4 separate regions of the Homo sapiens genome follow, and all the other regions are linked to region 3. Evidence: promoter capture Hi-C in human tissues and cell types (Jung and others, 2019). All regions are on one chromosome and are shown on one strand. The core of a region is centred on a gene start or on the middle of the fragment in contact, and the rest is flanking DNA. Distances in the headings are between cores, read along the strand shown. Region 1 overlaps RCOR3 (REST corepressor 3). Region 2 has its middle 9.7 kb from the start of RCOR3. Region 3 holds the start of RD3 (RD3 regulator of GUCY2D). Region 4 overlaps NEK2 (NIMA related kinase 2).

The links. The method cuts DNA at HindIII sites, captures the fragments that hold promoters and counts their contacts. A contact is called where the count stands out against the background at its distance.
Region 1: a contact is called between a fragment that was not itself captured here and the fragment with the promoter of RD3 in region 3, in 2 of the 25 tissues and cell types used here (mesenchymal stem cells and spleen).
Region 2: a contact is called between a fragment that was not itself captured here and the fragment with the promoter of RD3 in region 3, in 1 of the 25 tissues and cell types used here (spleen).
Region 4: a fragment that was not itself captured here is called in contact with the fragment with the promoter of RD3 in region 3 in 1 of the 25 tissues and cell types used here (aorta).

What each region holds. Positions count from the first base shown.
Region 1 is chr1:211,291,622-211,294,680 of GRCh38, forward strand. All of the region lies in intron 8 of RCOR3 (REST corepressor 3), which reads left to right. Among named protein-coding and RNA genes, the nearest start is that of TRAF5, 34 kb to the right of the region's middle. The HindIII fragment of the contact is 4,612 bases long and covers 1-3,059 here.
Region 2 is chr1:211,248,077-211,251,270 of GRCh38, forward strand. No RefSeq gene overlaps it. Among named protein-coding and RNA genes, the nearest start is that of RCOR3, 9.7 kb to the right of the region's middle. The HindIII fragment of the contact is 6,428 bases long and covers 1-3,194 here.
Region 3 is chr1:211,490,675-211,494,092 of GRCh38, forward strand. It overlaps RD3 (RD3 regulator of GUCY2D), which reads right to left and starts at 1,488. Exons shown (of 3, transcript NM_001164688.2): 1 at 1,094-1,488. The HindIII fragment of the contact is 12,360 bases long and covers 1-3,418 here.
Region 4 is chr1:211,661,662-211,665,043 of GRCh38, forward strand. It overlaps NEK2 (NIMA related kinase 2), which reads right to left. Exons shown (of 8, transcript NM_002497.4): 8 at 1,111-1,991. The coding sequence ends at 1,765. Among named protein-coding and RNA genes, the nearest start is that of NEK2, 12 kb to the right of the region's middle. The HindIII fragment of the contact is 3,568 bases long and covers 1-3,104 here.

The DNA of each region.
Region 1 (3,059 bases), core at 514-3,013, 200 kb before region 3:
GTGTGGGATCAAGATTCTCTATCTTAAACATGTTCAGATTTTTCTATTCCTTGGTCCTGGTTATTCACCCAAACTGCTTTTCTGGTTCTCTAACATAGGCCACATTTGCTTCCTCTGCTTTCTTACCAAAACTTATTCTCCAACCCTTTCTAATCTAGCTTCTGCCCCGTATGGTATTCCAGTTCTACTGAAACACCTCTCCGAAGATCATTTATGGGCTGACATGGTGGCTCATGCCTGTAATCCCAACACTTTGGGAGGCCAAGACAGGAACATCACTTGAGGCCAGGAGTTTGACACCAGCCTGAGCAACATAGTGAGACTTCATCTCTATAAAAAAAATTTTAAAAATAGCCAAACGTGGTTGTGTGTATCTGTAGTGTAGTCCTAGCAACACAAGAGAGTCTGAGGAGAGAGGATCGCCTGAGCCTAGGAGTTCAAGGTTTACAGTAGAAAAAAAAAATCACTTATGAACAAGTGGCCAACATCTAATGCTGCCTTCCTGGTTTTTAGCTCCTTTGACTACTCAGTAATGTTTGACACTGTCAGCCATGTCTTTCTTTTTGGAATTTCTTTCACTTGACTTTGTGACTCTCTGGAGTATGTGTGTTTATAGTACATATTTAGAAGGCAGCTATCCTCACCACTATACCACCAACGCATCTCATATTTGGTTAAATGCTTAGCCTTTAGTCAAACTATGAATGCAAGATGCCTAACTTCCAAACCACAGCAATCCTCTTTAGAAAACTTCTAAATCATTTGCTGTAATACTTTAAATGCACTAAAAACATAAAGGAATAAAGTGTACTCAGTCACCTGTATTCATACTTCATTCTCAGTACTACTACTCCTACACTTAGGGACTATTTTTATTGATTTTTTTAGAAGGCACTTTAAGCTTTAACTTCCTAACTTGGTTATTCATTTGATGTGTGACACAGTAAAGGTTTGCACTCATGGGTTTACAAATCCTGTTAACCACTGCTACTTTTATGTCACAAACATCTCATATGCAGTGTTCAAACTGAGTTCTTCCACACTCACCATAGTTATCTGTTCCACGTTTTGTATTTTCTGTCTCAGTGAGTAGTGCCACATACTCTCAATTACTGAAGCCAGTGACCAGTTAGCCTCAATTCCCCCTAATTCTCCACAATCAGGTATTTACAAAGATGTCTTGGCCGGGTGCAGTGGCTCATGCCTGTAATCCCAGCACTTTGGAAGGCCGAGGCAGGTGAATCGCGAGGTTAGGAGTTGAAGACCAGCCTGGCCAACATGGTGAAACCCCGTCTCTACTAAAACTACAAAAATTAGCCAGGCATGGTGGCAGGCTCCTGTAATCCCAGCTACTCAGGAGGCTGAGGCAGGAGAATAGCTTGAATCCGGGCTGCAGAGGTTGCAGTGAGCCGAGATCGCGCCACTGCACTCTAGCCTGGGCGACAGAGTGAGACTCTGTCTCCAAAAATAAATAAATAAATAAATAAATAAATAAATAAGTCTTAATTTTGTTTCCAAGGTATTTCTTTAATCTCTGCATACCACTACCATCCTTCCTTCATTCCTACAGTTTTAATGAAAGTTTTCTTAATTATTTATTATTTCTCACCTGGATTGTTAAATTAATTTCCATCCTCTTTACCCTATTTTCTTCTTCACATTACTACCAGAAGTGTCTTTCTAAAAGGCATATATGGTCATTTTGTTCCCTTGCTTAAAAATCCTTTAGGTTTCCTTCAATCTTTAGGCAAAATTAAAATTCCTCGGTCTGGCCCCAGTCTAACTTCTTGCCTTTTCACCTTAGGGCTTTTCTGTCTTCCTAAGCGTTATTCTGCCTGGAATGCAGTCCCTCCTCCCAAGCTTGTCTGCCAGTTTAATTCTTTAAAACTCAGTTTAGCTGTCCTTTTCTTTGGAACACTTTCCCTAATCTTCCCCACCACCTGTTCATCAACATATATAGAAGCACATTTACTCTCTCATTCTCTCTCTTTCTCTCTCCAAGTCTATGTTAGGTGTTTTAGCGTTTATCATAGGTTTATGTTTACTTATCTCCCCACTAGTCTATGAAATCCTCGAGAATTCAGACTTTACATTTTATCTCTGTATGTCTATCTAACATGGCCAGCTGACTACCCTTGAACCATCCTAGATTTTATGCATTTTAGCTGTGGTTTTAAGATCTCTAGTGAAAATAGTTCATAAATTATAAGTATTTCGTTGTCCACACTAGGGGGGAAAAACAGAGGAAAAAAGTAAACAATCCTAACCCTTAACAGTCTAAATGGAGACTAATAATATTGCTAGTAGAGTAAAAGTTAAAAACTTGGTATAGTTTAAATTCAGGTTGTATCTCCTAGCCTTAGGAAGGTTTCTTAACTTCTCTGTGCCTTATATTCCTCATCTGTAAAACTGTTATAATATAAGTAGAGTCTGTTCTGCTATAACTTTTTTTGAAAATGTGGATTTGTCCTAATGCAGTTAATATACTCTGGAAAAATTTGAGCATAACATGAATTTTTTGTTTGTTTATGTATGATTTTTGTCAGCAAAACAAAATGTACCCAGCTGAACTGAGCGCACACACATCTCAAACATGTAGCAGCTACCTCAATTCACTGTATGTTATGAACCATACATATATGGTGTTAAAACTTTTCATCTGATTTCAAGTAACCCTCCTACCACTTGCATAATAATTCACAAACTACAACCATTTTGACTCCCACTTCCATAAGCAACCTTCAGGTTTTTTTTCAAGGTAAAGTACTGTCTTTGTTGTAGCATTTATGGATTAAAAACAAATCATTTAGATTGTGTAAAACTGTGTTGCCATTTTTATTAGGTTCCTGTCTTATGTGTCATTGAAGTTTTTTAATGTTGTGTCCCAACCTCTTTTACCCTACAAGCCCTGTGGTTTTTATTATGAATTTTGCATAGCACACACTGACTTTTCTTTCTTTCTTTCTTTTTTTTTTTTTTTTTTTTTGAGACGGAGTCTCGCTGTGTCGCCCAGGCTGGAGTGCAGCGGCGCGATCTCAGCTCACTGCAAGCTCCACCTC
Region 2 (3,194 bases), core at 384-2,883, 240 kb before region 3:
TTTGAAATTTCCCAACCTCCTTTGAGATTAGATGGATCATGTGACTAGGCTGTGGATGTTGATATATCAGCATAAGTGGTTTGCAAGACTGCCGGGAAGTCTCCTTAATGAGAGGGGTGTGCTCTTTGGCTTTTACTCCTTTGTTCTGCTGCATGTAGCAGGGTCCTGACTGGCACTCTAGCAGCTATTCTGGATTGCAAGGGCAAAAGTTATGCTCCAGGAACAGTGGAGGGCAAAATGGAAGAAGTCTGGATTCCTCACCAGTTCATTGCAGTTGTCATGTCAGCCCAATATTGCCTACCTCTGTACGTCTTTTACATGAAAAGAAATAAAATTTCATTTTGTTTAAGACACTGCTGTTTGGGGTTTCTTTTGTATGTAGTTGAACTTTGGGTACAAAAAAAAACACATATGTTTTCTAAGACTTAAACATTTTTATTTTTGGCCAGGCGCGGTGGCTCACGACTGTAATCCCAGCATTTTGGGAGGCCGAGGTGGGCAGATCACAAGGTCAGGAGTTCAAGACCAGCCTGACCAACATGGTGAAACCCTGTCTCTACTAAAAATACAAAAATTAGCCGGCTGTGGTGGCGCATGCCTGTAGTCCCAGCTACTCGGGAGGCTGAGGCAGGAGAATCGCTTGAACCCAGGAGGCGGAGGTTGCAGTGAGCCAAGATCACACCACTGCACTCCAGCCTGGGTGACAGAGCAAGACTCTGTCTAAAAAAAAAAAAAGGACTTAAACATTTTCAAAAATGAAATGATCAGCCGGGCACAGCAGCTCACACAGTGGCTCACACAGTGGAACTTCGGGAGGCCGAGGCAGGCGGATCACCTGAGGTCAGGAGATAGAGACCATCCTGGCTAACATGGCAAAACCCCATCTCTTCTAAAAACACAAAAATTAGCTGGGCGTGGTGGCACACGCCTGTAATCCCAGCTACTCGGGAGGCTGAGGCAGGAGAATCGCTTGAACCTGGGAGGCAGAGGTTGCAGTGAACCGAGATCGCGCCACTGCACTCCAGCCTGGGGGACAAGAGTGAGACTCTGTCTCAAAAAAAAAAAAGAAAGAAAGAAAGAAAGAAAGAAATGATCTACTCTGTGATGCAGTTATCTATCTCTGTATCTGTTTAAATGGAGATATTCAAATGAAGATCTGTTTAAACTTCTAGTTTCAGAAATGGTGACTATTCCAGGAGGTGAAGATAAAGAAGGTTACCAGACCTCTAAAGTTCCTGTCAGCTCTTAAGATTACATGATTTCTCTGGCTGTGGGGATCAGTAGCTCTAAAAAAATTAATTAAAATTAAAAATTTAAAATTTAAAAAATTACAGTTCCTTCTCCCTATTATGTTTGTGTCCAACTTGAGCTGGCTTAATGTTAGGCAGTCCCCTGGCCATGCTGCTCAGGATCACTTGATTCTATTTTGGAGTTAAACTTATTCTAAGACCAACACTTCTAAAGTAATAATTAGGCTGCATGATGTGGGTCACACCTGTAACCCCAGCACTTTGGGAGGCCGAGGAGAGAGGATCACTTGAGGCCAGGTATTTATCAAGACAGGGAAATTGCAATGGAGAAAACGTAATGATCGCAGAGCCAGCAGTGTGGGAGACTGGAATCTTATTATTACTCAAATCAGTCTTTAAAGACAATTTGTGGGGTAGGGGCTTGGGAAGTGGGGAGTGCTGATTGGTCAGGTTGGAGATGTAATCGTAGGGGAGGGCCAAGTGAGTTTTTCTTGCTGTCTTCTGTTCCTAGGTAGGATGGCAGAACTGGTTGAGCCAGATTACCAGTATGGGTGGTGTCAGCTGATCCATCCAGTGCAGGGTCTGCAAAATATCTCAAGCACTGATGTTAGGTTTTACAATAGTGATGTTATCCCCAGGAGCAATTTGGGGAGGTTCAGACTCTTGGAGCCAGAAGCTGCATGGCCCCTAAACCCTAATTTCTAACCTTGTAGCTAATTTGTTAGTCCTGCAAAGGCAGACTGGTCCCCAGGCAAAAAAGGACTATTATCAATTTCGTTTCGGAGTCAAACCATGAACTGAATTCCTTCCCAAAGTTAGTTCCACCTACGCCCACGAATGAACAAGGACAGCTTAAATGTTAGAAGGAAGGTGGAATTGATTAGGTCTGATCTCTTTCACTGTCATAATTTCCTCAGTTATAATGTTTGCAAAGTTGGTTTCAAGACAAGCCTGAGCAACATGCAAGACCCTGTTGCTGCAAAAAAAAAATTTTACAAATTAGCTTGGTGTGGTGGTGCACACCTGTAGTCGTAGCTACTCAGGAAGGAGGCTGAAGCAGGAGGATTGCTTGAGCTTAGGAATTTGGGGTGGTAGTCAACTATGATCATGCCACTGCACGCCAGCCTGGGTGACAGAGCAAGATCCAAGATCAGTCTCAAAAAAAAAAAAAAAAAAGTAATAATGAAGGAAAACCAAAGAACACATCAATGAACTCTTCAGCATAACTAGTAGCATAAAGAAAATCATAATTAACCTGAATAATATGAATAAAACAGGAGTTCAATTGAGGCCTTTCCTACGTGCCTAGTACAGCTGGTGAATCAAGGTATAGTCCACAATGACTACCCTGCTGAATTTTTTTTTTATTTTTTAAAATGAGAATACTAACACCCCATCCTCTTTCCATCTTGCCTCTTCCATTCTACTTTCTAACTTCAATTAGTTATAACTTTACTTTTATGTTAATTTTTTTACTATAAATATCTGTGTTTTGTCTATTAGTTGATTCTTTAAACACTTATTCCTTGAAACAGTAACACCTATACATGGTAAGAGTCCAACCATGCAAAAAAATACAGAGGAAGATAAAGTCCCCCTTTCCATCCCAGACTGTGACACCTCTTCCTCAGAGAGAACCGGTTTTGATGTACTCTTTCAAAAATATTCTGAGGCTGGGTGCGGTGGCTCACACCTGTAATCCCAGCACTTTGGGAGGCCAAGGTGGGAGGATCATCTGAGGTCAGGAGTTCGAGATCAGTCTGGCCAACATGGTGAAACCCCTGTCTCTACTAAAAAAATACAGAAATTAGCCGGGCATGCCAGCTACTCAGAAGGCTGACGCAGCAGAATCACTTGAACCCAGGAGGTGAAGGTTGCAGTGAGCTGAGATTTTATCACTGCACTCCAGACTGGGCAATAAGACTGAAACTCTGTGCAGGCCCC
Region 3 (3,418 bases), core at 238-2,737:
GGCATCACAGAAAAACAACCTATAATCCACCAAGCCAGATATGAGCGGGCCTGACCTGTGGATCCTCTGCCCACCTGACAGACATCTGCTCATTTGTCGGGAACCCCTCAAGAGACAACTCCTCCCTGCAGCCGGCCCCTCACTTCCCCCCACCCATGGAGCACTGATCCCAGCCACCAGGGCCTGACACAAGGGCCCATCACCATGGCATCTAGCAAACACGTTTCTCACGCTTTGGGTTGTATTTATCTCTTCCCCACCTAGCTATGAATTCTGCAAGGGCGAGAGGAATGTGGGTTGAATCTGCTGCACATGGTAGCACTTGATAAGCGGTTCCTGAATGAATGAGTGAATGGCAGCCAGTCCTTCCCATTCTGAGGCAGAGGTGCAGCCAGGAGAGGGCGTGTACACAGGTCTGACTGACCACAGTGGGAGGGGACTGACCCTCATCCCTTGGTCGCAGCTGGACTTTCCTTCTAGGCCCGATCTCCCTGGCGCCCCACCCTGCACCCATCTGCCTGGGCCCACTCTCCTGGGCATGTTATCAGGGATGCACAGACTGCTCCATGTTCGAGGGGACTGAGGCACATCCATCACCCTCGTGCCCTGGGTGCTGCTGCATCCCCAGAGCCTGACTCTGTGCCTTGGACTTAGTAGATGCTCGAATCACAGTTCGCAAACCCATGCAAGAGTCTCTGATTTGGGTTTCGCTTTCCTTCCCCCTGCCTGTGTCCACTCTATAAAGGCAGAAAGGAACCTGCTGGAGCTGGGTCCTCCCCGAGAGGCTTGCAGTTCCAGAACAGGCAAAAACAATGGCTTCCCACAGGTTTACAAAACAAGGAGCAGGCTATAGCCCCGAGGAAGCTGCAGGACCCTCATCGGTTCCAACTCCTGTGGAACTGATGAGGACTAAAGGGGCCTTCCTGTGGCCATCTGGGTCCCGGAGGTGGGCGGCTTTCTAGGCTCCCCAGCCTGCCACACCCCTTGAGGCCACCCCACCCAGCTTCAAGCCTCAGCCCTAACTTCCAAAGGTGCAGCTGTGCCAGGGTGCGGGTGGGGAAGACACTGTCTCCTGGGGAGACCTCCATCTTACCTCTGAGGTCAGCCTCTGCTCAGGTGCAGCGTCACAGCAGGGGGCCTGCGTTCTGCTTCCCAGTCTGGGAGAAGAGAGTGTCTGGATATTTTCAGGAAAAAAAAAGAAAGTTGAGCAGCCACAGCAGGGCAGGGCAGTCTACATCCTCAAGTCTCCCTCAGCTTCTCTGCTGCTGCCGGCTGGCCTCAAATTTTGCCTCTCTTTGGTTCTCTGAGAAGTTTTACCAAGAGAAGAGACAGGAGGAGAGATCCAGCCTGGACTATTGTTTGTGGGGTGTGTAGGTGTGTGTGTGTGTGTGTGTGTGTGTGTGTGTGTGTGTGTGTGTATGCGTGTATGTATCCCGCGAGGCTGGAGCCACAGCTTCCCTGATGAACCATGGAGGCGGGCCAGCTCCTGAGCTGCGGTTGCCCTGGAGACCCACCTAAGCCTCTTTGCCTGGAGCAGCATTATCTGTAGAGGGAGTGGCTGATCTGACACAAAAGCCTGAGGCGACCCAGGCCCAGGCAGTGAGGGAGCACTTGTGTCCAGATGGCATTCTGTCCGCTTCCTCCTCCAGCCGGTGCTCAGTGTGGCACAAACTGGGCAAGACCATTCTCACCCAACCCTCTGCTGAGCCCTAGGTGTACCTGCTGTTGGCAAATGTTTCCAGCTGCCTGGTGGGTGGCTCCTGGATGGAGATCCCCTCTTTCTATCAGCTCCCTCCTACAGGGAAGGGGTGATTCTGGGTGCTGAGGACAGGGACCTGTGAAGATACATCTCCGCCTTTGCCCCACCACATCCCTTGCCTGTCTTCCTCTCTGCTTATCTAAATTATTTCCTTCCCTCAAGGCAAGCTCAAGAGCAGACAGTTCTGACTTTCAGAAGGAGGGGCTGTCCAGGGAGAAGAGGAACATGGAACAGAAAGCATTGACGTTGAGGTATTTGAGATAACATTTGGGGATAGCAGAAGCATCCTGTTGCTGTTCTGCAGCATCCCACACTCATGTCTGGGCCTCCTTCCTGTCTCTGCTCTCTGGTCACGCTGTCACTTGTAGACTGTTCTGCCTAGAAGCCATGTGTGGGCCAGCTTGCACCTAACAGACATTAGGTAGCACTAAAACAGATGCACACTGCCCTGTGAGGGGCATGGGAATACTGTAATGGGCATGAAGCTGCATTATAATAGATCTTAGGTAATCCTGTGCTGGGTGATAGCGTGACTTTTGCACACATCTGGTTTTGATTGTGTTGGAAATAAAGCAGAAAGTACAACCAAGAATAAATTAAACAATGGCTGATGAAATGGACTCAGGTTGCCCACCTGCCTGCCTGCATGATTTCGTCCCTGGGTGATTTGTCACTTCGTGCTTGCTCTGTGGCTGGTTCCACTCAGCTGGTTCCATCCGCCTTCCCTCTTCATCCATCAAGCAGGCAAGATTCTTGAGTCAGGAGTTGGATCATATACTTCTCTTGACCAGTTCACAGCACGACAGCCCCAAAGATTGAGTGGGTCACTTGGGGATGGAAGATCCCCACATTTGAGGGAGCTGAAGCTGACTTCCTCTGACCCACAGTTCCCAGGCGGCCTCCACCTCAGGGCCAGCTAAGGCCAGAGTCACCCAAAGCAGGTAACTGGGAGTCCCCACCTCTGAGCACCCCACCACTATCCTGGCACTTTCCCAAGGGGCGTGGCTTGGAGGTCCAAGGGCAGAAATTCCCAGGCATTTCCACACTGTAGGGAAGGGAGCAGGGGGATGACAAGACTTTACCTTCCCTTTAGGAAAGTTGCTGGAGGCAATGAGGAGAGGAGGGCATGGACTAAGTCACATGCTCATCTGTGCAGCACGTATTTCTAAAGCACCATTCTACAGGGGCACCAAGCTAGGAGCTGGCTGAGCCTGGCTCTCCTCTCTGCACACATCCCAGCCAAGCCTGTGTGTGCTGGATTGCTGGATCAGATGAGGAGGAGGTGGAAGTCTGGCAGGCAGGTGGGGAGCAGGGACAGCATTAGGGCCCAGAGTTAAAGACTTTTATCTCCAAGTAGTACAACCTTGGGTCTGCTACTGACCATTCTGTGTTTGAATAAAAACAATTCATCCCTTTTCTATAGCCATGCTTTTGTATTAATATCTCCCCTTCTAATGCACACACAATGAATGTAAATGAGATCATAGAGGCCAATGTCTTGAGCCATCAGAAAGATTTTGTCGCAGCAGCTGCCAGATGAGCTTCAGGACTCCTGACCCTGGGATGCCAGGGAACAAGCACACAGACGACTTATAGCAGTCTCCCTGGCAGACGCAGCTGGCCCCTCTCCTGCATTTTTCAAATGGTGCCTGTGATTAG
Region 4 (3,382 bases), core at 71-2,570, 170 kb after region 3:
TGTTAGATTTAGTGGTAAATATAAGCAGTCTATCTTCTTCGACAGTCAAATCCCTAACCAAGAACAGTTTGGTTAATGAGTTTTGTAACACTGGAGGAACCTCAGTATCAGCAAGTGTCTTTGGTTCACAAGGTCGTTCAGCTTGTCGAATTTTATTCTCTGACAAAGGGCATTTTTTTAAGGCAAGCGTGGCACTATTCATGAAGGAGCAGAATTTGTACATAACTGAATAATTTGGCAGGAGAGATTTCTTGTACTTTTCACCTGAAAAGTCGCTTTTATGATCTTCAAAACACTAAACATTGAGGAAAGATATTCCCCACCTAGTCTACTGAGACTCACATATTAACCTCCTCTGGAAACACCCTCACAGACACATCTAAAATAATGCTTTACCAGATTTCTAGGGATTCCTTAATCCAGTCAAGTTGACACATAAATCAACAAGTTCACCCCTTATCAACTCGATATCCATCCACATCTCTTAAACCATACTTAATTTCCAAATGAAGACAATAACAAGGTAATAGTTCTGCCTAACATGATGCAATTATCCTGTATACAGCTGAAACGGCACTAATCCCTAACCTCAAATTCGGCTTTCAGGATTTTAACATCTGGGATTTTAATCTTTCAGGATTGTGATTTTGGAAGTTCACACATTAGGGATTCTGATCTTTTGGGATTTAAGACATTAGGGATTTTGGTCTTTCAGGATTTTCGCATTTGAGATTGTATCATTCAGGATTATGATCCAAACCCATGGACATTTTGTTGTCAGCAGCTGTCCTGTGCATTGTAAAATGTTTACAGTGTCCCTGGCCTGTACCCACTAGCAGCCAGTAGCACCCTACCCCAAATCATGACAATCAAAAATGCCCCCAGACATTGCCAAACGTCTCTTGAGGAGCAAAATCACCCTGTTAAGGACCACTGGCTTACATACATGGATTAATGAGATGGGAGGTAAAGCGCCATACAGTTTAGGACTGGAATGCCACTCCCTTGAGCATCAGATCCATGTTTCCTTCTGTACCCTACAATGAAGACCTACAAATCATAAACACAACTCCCATCAACTAAGAGACCAACAAATGCAAGACACATAACTACAGGGAAACTGAAGAATTCTTTTATTTAGTGGGAAAGAAGTAGGTAAATGACAGACAGCTCATATTCTGTTAAACAGAAAAAAAAAAAGAATACAAACATCACAGTGATGAATTTTCACAAAGCTAACAGATTTGAACTACAGAGCAATGGAATATTTATAAGCAAGATGTCATGGTATTAATGACCAAATTGCATCTAACTGGGTTTTCTAAGCTCAAAAACATTTAAAATCTCAGACTTAAAATTTAAATCTAGACATGACAATTGTAAGCATACCACTCAGTCATTTAAAACTATTCAGTGAGTGCTACTCTTCCTGCATAAATATTTTTTTCCTAACATTATTTTTTCTCCCAAGATTTAGAATGTCACATCTCATGTTCCTACTAGTAATCACACACAGGATTAAAAGCCCAACCAAGAAAGTATTCTTTTTATAATATGTTCTTAAAAGAAGAAAGAAAAATTAAATGTGAACATTTTGTACAATAGTTGCTGAAGAACAGTAAAACCAATTCCGAAATATCATGTGTACTATACAGAAAGGCATGGCTCATGGAACCAAGTATTCAACACTACAGCATTTGAATATCAGTCTTTAAAGGTTGGTAATATTACATCCTGTACACAGCTCTGTGTCTCTCTACCTGGCTAGCGCATGCCCAGGATCTGTCTGCTTTTCAGTTGGTAATTTTTCTCAATATCTGACAGGGCTTGAGCCCGCAGCTGGGCAGCGTGAAGCCTTTTCTTCAGGTCCTTGCACTTGGACTTAGATGTGAGCTGACTCTCAGAATTCTCACTCCTCATGATGTTCTCTTTACTTTCCCCACTGAAATGAACTTTCTTCTTAATTACTGAGGATGGAAGATTAAGAAGTTCTTTAGAAGGAAAAAGAAAAAGGGCTCTGAGTTACTTGAACAGAGTTCAACTCCTTCATACTTATACTTATCAAAAAGTATTTGCTCTTATGGCTCACATTTGAAATCTAGGTGCCTGTTTTATTTTCTCTGGGATAGGAGGTTAGGGGTGTAGGACTTGCAGAAATCAGCCTTTTAATCCACAGCATTGAAAAAATAATATTGGAATGTGCCAAAATTCAAGGAACATAAGTTTTATTCTCTTAACAACCAACAATCAATTTTACTCTTAAACACACTGAGTATTATGGACAACATAAAACTTTTGGAAATCAATGTTATTTATCTCTGTCCTTGAAAATAAGTGCCATTCTATGCAGAACACCTTACCTACAGAAAAGTGTAGAAGCAGAGGTTTTTTTCTGTCTTTGTTTTTTTTTTTTTTTTTAAATAGAGAACACCTACAGTTTTGGTTAAATGTTCAAGAACACTTAGTTCAAAGCATCTTAATGGACGAGAAATCTGTTTCCAAAAAATCTAAACAAATTCAGTGTGGAAAAGGTAAATCAAGTAAGAGTAGTAAAAACTGTAAACTATTCTTTACATGGAAAAAATAAATAATAATCATATTTACTTAAAGTGGCAACACTATTAACTGCTGACAGAATTACTGGGGGCTGGAGGCTTACAGATTCTAGAATCCTTTTATTTTTTGTGTTAAAGGAAATATGTTCGAATATTTACTGAGCTCATAGGATGGGCCACTGTGAACCAAACAAAGGCCCTATTCTAGTAGGAGGAGATAAACCAAACACAAACAAACAAGTACTGGTGGGGAATATTTGATGGTAATACGTGCTATTAGGAAAAATAGCTCTGGAAACAGGGACATGCTGGGTGCTGGGTGCTGGGTGTAATGATACAAAGCCTCATACAGCATTTCTGAAGTAAGAAGCCACAGGGCTGTCTGGATGAAGAGTGCTCCAGGCAGAAGAAATAGGAAAGGCTGGCACACAGATGCACTGCCTTCCAAGGGTCCTGTGACTTCCCGCTTCATACGTCGCTTCTGCTTCAAAGCAAACTGGATTGCTTTTAGACCTTATCTCCACTGTTTCAACTCTATCCACCTTCTTATTACCACAAATACCTTTACATTTGTAAGTCAACATTGTCTTACTAATGGGATAGTTTTATTTTGTTTTTGTTTTTGTCTGAGATGGGGTCTTGCCATGTTTTCCAGGCTGGAGTGCAGTGGCTAGTCACAGGTGCAGCTGTAGTGCACTACAGCCTTGGACGCCTCGGCTTAAGTGATCTTCCTGCCTGAGCCCCAGAGTAGCTGGGACTATAGGTGCGTCACCACACTTGGCTCTTAATGGGACAGTTTTATAAGAAAGAAAGTGTTTTAAAAACAT